2 separate regions of the Homo sapiens genome follow, and region 2 is linked to region 1. Evidence: promoter capture Hi-C in human tissues and cell types (Jung and others, 2019). All regions are on one chromosome and are shown on one strand. The core of a region is centred on a gene start or on the middle of the fragment in contact, and the rest is flanking DNA. Distances in the headings are between cores, read along the strand shown. Region 1 holds the start of CCDC178 (coiled-coil domain containing 178). Region 2 overlaps CCDC178 (coiled-coil domain containing 178).

Region 1 (4,236 bases), core at 549-3,048:
TCGCCGTCACCTGGGATCATTGTCGGCTGCTAGAGGCTGCCTGCCTTCCTTACCATAGGGTCTTGTCAATCTTCAAAGGTGACAATAGAGAATATCCCTTTGATAAATCCCTCTGATGCTTCAAACCTCCGACTCCAGGAAGAGGTCAGTCCCTTTTAAGGGTTTACCTAATAAAGGCCAACCCATCCTGGATAATCTCCCTTTTTCAAGTCAATTGTGTCAGGTAACAAACTAATCAGGAAAATGAAATCCACCAAATTTAAAGTCCTAAGGATTATGCAGGTGTGTATACCAAGGGGTAGGGTCATGGGCGTCCATTTTAGAATTCTGCCTGCCACAACAGGGGTTTAGCAATTATCAGTGAGTTCTAATTAAGAGAAACTTGTCAATAATGAGATTTCTAGTAGGTAAAGTTTTATTTTATGAGAAAAAAATCTAGCTATTGTTTTAATATGCACATTTACATATTGTGAACCCTCATGAATACATATTTACTGGCATGCAAATGATTCATTTGGTTTATAATTTAACATTGTATTGAGAACAAGCCAAAGTTTAATAATTAATGGAGGGAGATGGGAAAGTGGAGTGCATTCTTGAATCCATTTTTTAATTACAAAAAGAGCTCTGCTTCTGCATATATTAATTTAAGATTAAGACCTTCCACCAGTTTGTTAGTTATTGCTTCCTTTTTTTCATCTTTGGCTGAAAGGACCACATTCCAGGTACGGACTTGCTGGTTTTCCCCTCTTAGAAAGGATTACTAATTAAATTGCCTCTTAAAGTAATAGACTTTGCTGATTTAACCTTGGCAGGCAATTGCCTGTTCTCAGTGTTGCCTGGAAAAATGATTTCTCTGGATGAGAATGCTAATCTTTATTCTGATTCTGTTTTTTTTTTTTAACCATCTTCAGTTTATAGTCCAGTGTTTGTTTTCATTGAAGAAGACGGTGACAATAGTGTAAGACACGACTGTCCTCTGAAGCCTATTTCAGTTCACAGTGTATATTCACAGATGAAGAAACAAAATGTAGGTAATACATTTTGTGCCACTGATTTATGTATTTATTGATCTGTCGCCCAGGCTGGAGTGCAGTGGCACGATCCCAGTTCACTGCAGCCTCTAACCACTGGGCTCAAGCAATCCTCCTGCCTCGGCCTCCCAAAGTCCTGGGACAGGACACGCCTGGCACAGGGTTGTGCCACCACACCCGGCCTGCCACTTAGTATTTTGTCAGAAGGATCAATGCTTCAAAAATTTGTTTTTGAAAGAAACAGACCCTTAGAGAAATGGCTTGAATTAGTCTTGAATTAGTCATTTTCCCCACTTTCAGACACTAGGAAAAGTTCTTTCTTCCTTAACAGTTTGTTGAGGTTTCTCAATACTGAAGTCACAACCAAACCACATGGGGTTATCGCATGGAGTCCTGGTTGTATCATCCCAAGTGGCAAGAAAGAAAGAGGTCCTGCGGTCCTCCCGAAGGTGGACGAAGTCTGTGATCCCCTCACGTTCTAACCTCACTGCTGTACGAAGGGGCGTTGACTCGTCTCCACTCCTTCCCTCTCCGGTAAAGAGGGAAAGGAGTTGGGTTGGCAAATCGGTTACAAGAGAAAGGGAAAGGCACTGGGAGAAGGCGGAGCGGGGGCGGCCTGGAGCGCTGATCGGGCGCCGAAACGCCGGGAGTCGGGGGCTAAGGGCTCGAGCCAGGAGGCCCCGGAGCAGCAGCCGCCCGCTCCTCACGCCGCCGCCGCCGCCCCCGCGGTTGCCTGGACACGGGATAACCGACTTGGGGCCTCGACCGCAGCAGAGCCGGAGGGGTGGGCAGGCGCGGGTCCGGGAGACGCGCGGGGAAACGCGCGGAGCCGGTGAGTCGGGGGCGCTTGTGCCTCGGCGCGGGCGCTTGTGCCTCGGCGCGGGGCGCTGCCGGGCGGCGCCCACTCCCCCTGGCCGCCCGCCTGCGCGACTCCCGCGGGAGAACCAAATGCAATTCCCTGGCCACCCTGAGGGAGTTAGAGTCGACTAGTTCTTCACCCCTTCCAGAGGCGGTGGGGAGTCCTTGCCCCGCGCGTTTGAAAACAATTCCCCAAATCCCCAGTCCCATAATTCCCCAGTCCCCCAGTCGTTTTGTCCCCCTGTTCTCCGTCCTCCAGTTTCCCAGTCCTCCAACCCCTGTCCCCAGTCCCCCAGTCCCCCAGTCCCCCAGTCCCCCAGTCCCCCAGTCCCCCAGTCCCCACTGCCGGGGGAAGGGAAGCAGAGTCTCCCTCCGCTGGCCGCCTAGAGGAACTTCGTCTTGTCTGTAACTGCGTCTCTAGCGTCTTATTCCTTTAAAATAATTATTTCAACTTTTATTTTGCTTATAAGGCCGCCTTGTGGTGGCTCATGTATTATTCCTTTGAACTGTTATTGATTTCTTTTCTTGATATTTAATTTTTTAAGTGTCTGCTCAATCAAGTCAAATACTGAACAACTTCCTGGCGGAGAGGCTGAGAATTTTATACTTGCTTGCTCGAAAGCACCCCAAATAAGATGATCCACGCCAACACCTCCCCTTTACAGGTGAGAAAAGTGATATTCAGAGCTGATTTGTGATTTGACAAAAGTCAGATCCAGCAATCTTCAAACTCAGGAATATAAGAATCTCCCGATTGCCAATTCAAAGCATTTTCTATTATTGTTTTCTTGACATTCATCCACTGCTCAATAAATATTTGTGAATTGACTTGGTAGCTTATCACTCCTATTTATCATTGGATAATCTGTTGTGTATTGATTGCTCTGGGCATCTTGACCCAAATACAGCATTCTTGACATCTCCCTCCTACCCTCAAAATATTGTTTCTTGGTCCTGCTGTAGTAATAGGTTTTAGAACACCACTTACCAAGTTTAAGAACTCAGAGACATGACTAGTTGTAAGACAAATCCAAGAATCCAGAGGATTTTCAGCTATTTATGTTCAATTGTTATTTAGACATTCGTACAGAAACTAGTGTATTTCTATCTTGAATATATAATACTTCTTACTTTACTGTTGCAGTCATAAAGTTTTATTATAAACTATATCTGTCTAATTTCCAGAACTATCGAAAATATGAGTTTGATTGTTAGTCTACCCACTATCCCTGGATGGGTTGGGATTGCTGCCAGAGCTTTTATCCACAACCCAGACTTCTCTCTCCTGCTCCCACCTCAGATTCAACACAACCTTAGACTCAACTAATTTGTTACCACATCCTCAGAATTTTTCTTCCTGTTCTATATTCCATAGCAGTGAACGGGATAATTGCATATATTCTTCTTTCTTTTATCTTTATAATATGGACTTCATTCTCACACTGGCTTATTCCACCAGTCTAGAACCATGATTTCCAAGAGCACTGGACTCATAAATTCCCAAACTTGCACCTATAAAGAAAATCTAGAAACACTCGATGAATTCTTCTTGACCTCAGTTGGTTCAATTTGCCTGTCCCAAGAGCATTTATGTTGGGGATAGGGTTACTACGATTGACAGCAATGTCAGACTATGTGGATGGAGTGGGAAAACAATTACACACAAAACAGGAGCCCTCTAGGAAAGACAATTTCTGGGGGAAAATCCATATTTGTCTACTCAGTTTATCTAGGCTTATGGGACTGAAGATTAATGAGGTTAATGAGAATATTGGCTGCTAAAATGCTAGATGGCAGATTACAGACAACATGGAAAGGAAGATGATGTATGGTGAATGAGCAGGGAAAAGCAGAAAGATTAAGCAACTGGAATATTTAAAGTAGACGAAGAATTTGTATTGAGGTAATGATATAGGGAGAGAATTGGACTGATTATTTTATAAGCATCTGGGTTATATACCTGGTGGAAAATTAGTACATCTACAAGCAGATGGTTGCATGTGTGTGAGCTCTAATGGCCATGGTAACTTCATGTCTGTTTTCTGCACAATAACACAAATTGTGTGTGTGTGTGTGTGTGTGTTTGCCGTGTGTGTGTGTGTGTGTGTATGCCGTATATGGCATTTTAAAATCGATGTTGAACTTTTAACTTCATTTATAATGCTGCTGAAATAGAAGAAGACCACTCACATTAGAACAAGCCAAGGCTATTTATTCAGATCTTGCTAGAGGAAGGGAGTGAGCTACTATTACTTGCATTGGACAGAGACTCAAATGCAGACAGGGGAGTGGGGAAGCTATAAAGCTTCAGGTATGTTTTGACTGGAGGTTGTTGACATGGGGA
Region 2 (4,236 bases), core at 668-3,167, 37 kb after region 1:
TGACATGCCTAATAGTAAAACACTACTGTTTTCTTTCATATACATTATCTTTTAATGGATATAGATGTATTTATACAGATGCATTATAAGTATAATTTTAAAATTTAAATTATATAAATAACATACATTTTTGTAATTCTTGATAATTACGTTTTTATTGAATAATAGTTCTCAGTCTTCTTTATCATAATTTAAATAACTATTGTTCTATTTTGGCATATATGCTAAGTGATACTGTGTTTAGCTTTTTAAAATTAAGCTACAATTCACATAGCATAAAATTTACCTTTCTAAAGTTTACAATTTAGAATTTTTAGTATAAGTTTGTGTGGCCATTACCACTATCTATTTCTAGAACACTTTCATAACCACTGAAAGAAACCCTGTACCACTAGCATTCTTTCCCCATTCCTCCTCTACCCAGCCTCTGGAACCACAAATCTGTTTTCTTGCTCTATGGATTTGTTTACTCTAGATATTTCATATCAATGATTTTATAAAATAGTTGGCTCTGCATGCCTTTCACCTTTTCAACCAAGATAATGCTGTCAAGGTTCATCCATGTTGTAAAATGTATTCATATTTAATTCCTTTGTATGACTGAATACTATTATTCTTTATGGATATTCCACCTATTGTTTATACATTCATCAGTAGATAGATGTTTTAGTTGTTTCTGTTTTAGGAATATTATGAATAATGCTGCTATGAATATTTGAATACAAGTTTTTATGCAAACATATGTTTTCATTCCTGTTGGGTGTATAGTTAGGAATGGAATTGCTGGGTCATTTTGTAATTTCAGTGTTTAACTTTATTAGTAATTGCCAAATTGCTTTCCACAGAAGCAGCCATAGTTTACATTTCATAATACAAAATACATGGACTCCAGTTTCTCCACATCCCTACCAACAGTTATTAGTTTCTTGGTTTGTTTTTACTTTATTATTATAGCCTCCTAGTGGCTGTGAAGTGACATTTCACTTATTTTTTTTTTTAATTAGTAGACTGTCTTTAGAGTATTTTCAGGTTTATAGAAAACTGGTACATAATACAGAGCTCTCATATACTCACTATCTCCTAACCCACATTCACAATTTCCAATATTATTAACATCTTGCATTAGTGTTGTGTATTTGTTAAAGTTGATAAACCAATATTGATACATTTTTATGAACTAAGGTCCATGACTCATTCTTTTGTGGTACAGATCTCTGGGTTTTGACAAATGCATAATGTTATCTCATGCTTCTCAGATTTCTTTTCACCTTAGGTTTAACAAGAAGTCTAGAGGGGCTGAAGTGAATATTTCCCTCTTTCCATTGGTTAGTCTCTGTTAAGGTAGTTTCCCTTGAGGGGTAGTGGTAAACCAAACCTTCTGGGTATATTTCAAAATGGCAATTTTTACCCTGGCAATAATTCAAAATAACTACTTTTCCCCTTCTTCTAGAAGTCGAAAGGAGTATTCCTCAAATTTCAACTGTGAGAACAAGGTGGAGCTGGAGATAAAAGTAAAAATATACCTGGCCCTCTAATACTGACTCCCCAGAAGTTTTTAACTCTCAAACTAGTCCACACTCAGCCTCCAATAGTTAATCAATTAGATCTTACACTTCTCTACCCATTTTTGGCTCCAGCAACTTCTGCATTAGCCTGACCCTCCAGTTTTTGGGGTGTCAGTTTACATTGTAACCTTAATTCACTGATGGACCTAAGAAAAATTGTTGAGTATTTCCGTTCAGCTTTTTCTTTTAAGAGAAACCGAATGCTGACTTTCAAGATTTTTATGTATCAAAGTGTAACTGTAGTATCCAAACTGATTTTGACAAAAGTCTATTTGCTTTATTCCTCTGTATGAACCATTTGTCCGGTTTTTTTTTTTTTTGGATGTCATACATTTTTGTTGAAAACTGGGCATTTAAAATAATAGAACGTGAGAACCTGTGGTCATCAGATTGTTCTTCTTCTCTAGGGTTTGCTTTCCCTGCTGATTTTTGTAGTTGTTAATTTAGCAACTTTTCTAAATTAGTTCTCTGAAGCCCTCTGTGGCCACTCACTGAAATCTCTATCCAGTTGGCTTAATGGTCAATTAATGGCGGAACAGATATTTCTCTAGATTCCTGGAATCAAATCTCTGTCTTTGCTGAGCATCTTTATGTGCATGTTCAGATACATCTTCAACACTCATCCAAGGACTTGACAGCTCAGCCTTAGCCTTTCCTTCTGGCACATGCAGAGTCTCAAGGTCAACCAGAGGTGAGAGATTAGGGCTTTCATGGGTCTTTTCTGTGTGTGTGCCAAATCCTCAAATGATAAAGGGATTTGGTTATATGGGTGAGAGATGAGACTGAAGTAATTGTCTATTGCACTAGTTCTCAACTAGAATTGTGCATCACAGTAACCTGCAGAAAAATTTAAAAAAATCTACAAGTCTAGGCTCTCCCCTGAAGATTTTGATAGAGTAAGTCTAATAAAGCGTGGACATGTATGTTTACAAATATTTCCTTGAAGCCAGGCATGGCGGTGCAGCAGCTGTAGTCCCAGCTGCTTGGGAGGCTGAGATGGGAGGACTGATTGAGCTTGGGAGTTTGAATGTAGCCTGGGCGACATAATGAGACCCTTCCTCTAACAGTAACAACAACAACAAAGTCCTCAAAATCTGGATACTATTCTGGTTAAGAACCACTGAATAGATAAGTGTAATATGTAAATTCTCATATCTCAGAAATGTAAGATATCTCTAGAAGAGTTGGACTTTGATAGATGCTAATTCCTTTAAATCTCTTCTTTCCGATAATATTAGCCTGACTTTTTCCTGATCATGCTCACAGCTTTAGAAGTGAAGTCTTGCAGGGAATAACCAGGTATTTCTAAAAATGACAGTTCTTTAGGAATGAGGCTTGCAAAAAACTGCAACTCTCTTCTTCCTCCTCCGATATCGTAAATGTGGACCTTTATTTTTCAAGGCTCTGTTGACCTTCAGAGTCAGGGCTGGGACCAAGGAAAGTTAAGAAGCCACAAATGTTTGTGTTCTTACCAAGATTTATCTGTTTTTCTTGAATAGTTGTTCACACAGTTGCTGGAAGCCTTTGCTATATTTCTGGAATTCTGAAAATGTTGATTTTGACAATTTCGCCTTTTTAAATCTTTGTATTTATGGAGAGGTAGATTTTTCAAAGGTCTTTATCATTTTCTCTGATATCTCTTTTTAACTTTTGTCTTTTGTGGGTTTTTGTTTCAAGTTAAGTATTCAGAATTGAAATTTGGGGGACATAGGCTGTGAACATTTGTGTGGCCTTCAATATTTATTTTATATTGTTTTCCACAAATGTACCTCACATTCAACTGTTTATCAGTATTACCACAACATATTAATACCAGATTTTATTTGATTATTATTAAATAGCTAGTTTATTAAATAGAAAATGACCACAATTGCTCTACTTTACATTTTTATTACCAAAGAATATAAATAATTTCCATGTGTTCATTTAATTATTTAATCTTCTCTCATTTGGACCTTCTGATGATGGATTGTTAATAGTTAACGTTTTCAACTTATATAAATAAAACCTGAAGCCTTTATATATTATTTCTTTTTGTGTCATATTTAGTGAAAATAATTGCCCATCTACCTTTGAACTTCTGTCTTGAGTCAAAGAAGATAAAAGTATCATTTTTAATATATTGTTAAATTATTAAATCTAAACGCATGACTAAATGTTATATATCATGTTAATTTTTATAATTTTAATATATTTTGAAAAATTTTAAATTCTGTAGTTCATTAGGAATTTACATTAGAAAATTTGTTTACTGATAGAGTGGTTTTGATGAATACATTCTATTGGAATTTTGTAACTGGAATATTGTATAACAATACAGTTATCCACCAAGGCAGAAACATGAATTAGAGCATGAATTTATTTGAACCAATGTTTTTCAGGGTCTGTTTCATGTGCAACTCTTTGTAGAAACTGACTATAGGCACCTCTCGTTTTATTGCACTTCACTTTATTGCACTTTACAGATCCTGTGTTTTGTTTTGTTTTGTTTTAATTTGAGGTTTGTGGCAACTCTGTTTCCAGCAAGTCTATGGGCAGCATTTTTCTAACAACATGTAGAAAAACTTCATGTATCAATGTCACATTTTAATACTTCCTGCAATATTTCAAAAACTTTTTCATTATTTTTATCTGTTATGGTGATCTGTGATCAGTGGTATTTGTTGTTACT

Evidence for each region. Contacts are between HindIII fragments. The study calls those that stand out against the background at their distance.
Region 2: a contact is called between a fragment that was not itself captured here and the fragment with the promoter of CCDC178 in region 1, in 1 of the 25 tissues and cell types used here (H1 embryonic stem cells).

What each region holds. Positions count from the first base shown.
Region 1 is chr18:33,438,283-33,442,518 of GRCh38, reverse strand. It overlaps CCDC178 (coiled-coil domain containing 178), which reads left to right and starts at 1,798. Exons shown (of 23, transcript NM_001105528.4): 1 at 1,798-1,866; 2 at 2,438-2,557. The HindIII fragment of the contact is 6,939 bases long and covers 1-4,236 here.
Region 2 is chr18:33,401,139-33,405,374 of GRCh38, reverse strand. The region is part of intron 3 of CCDC178 (coiled-coil domain containing 178); the gene reads left to right. Among named protein-coding and RNA genes, the nearest start is that of CCDC178, 37 kb to the left of the region's middle. The HindIII fragment of the contact is 6,003 bases long and covers 1-4,236 here.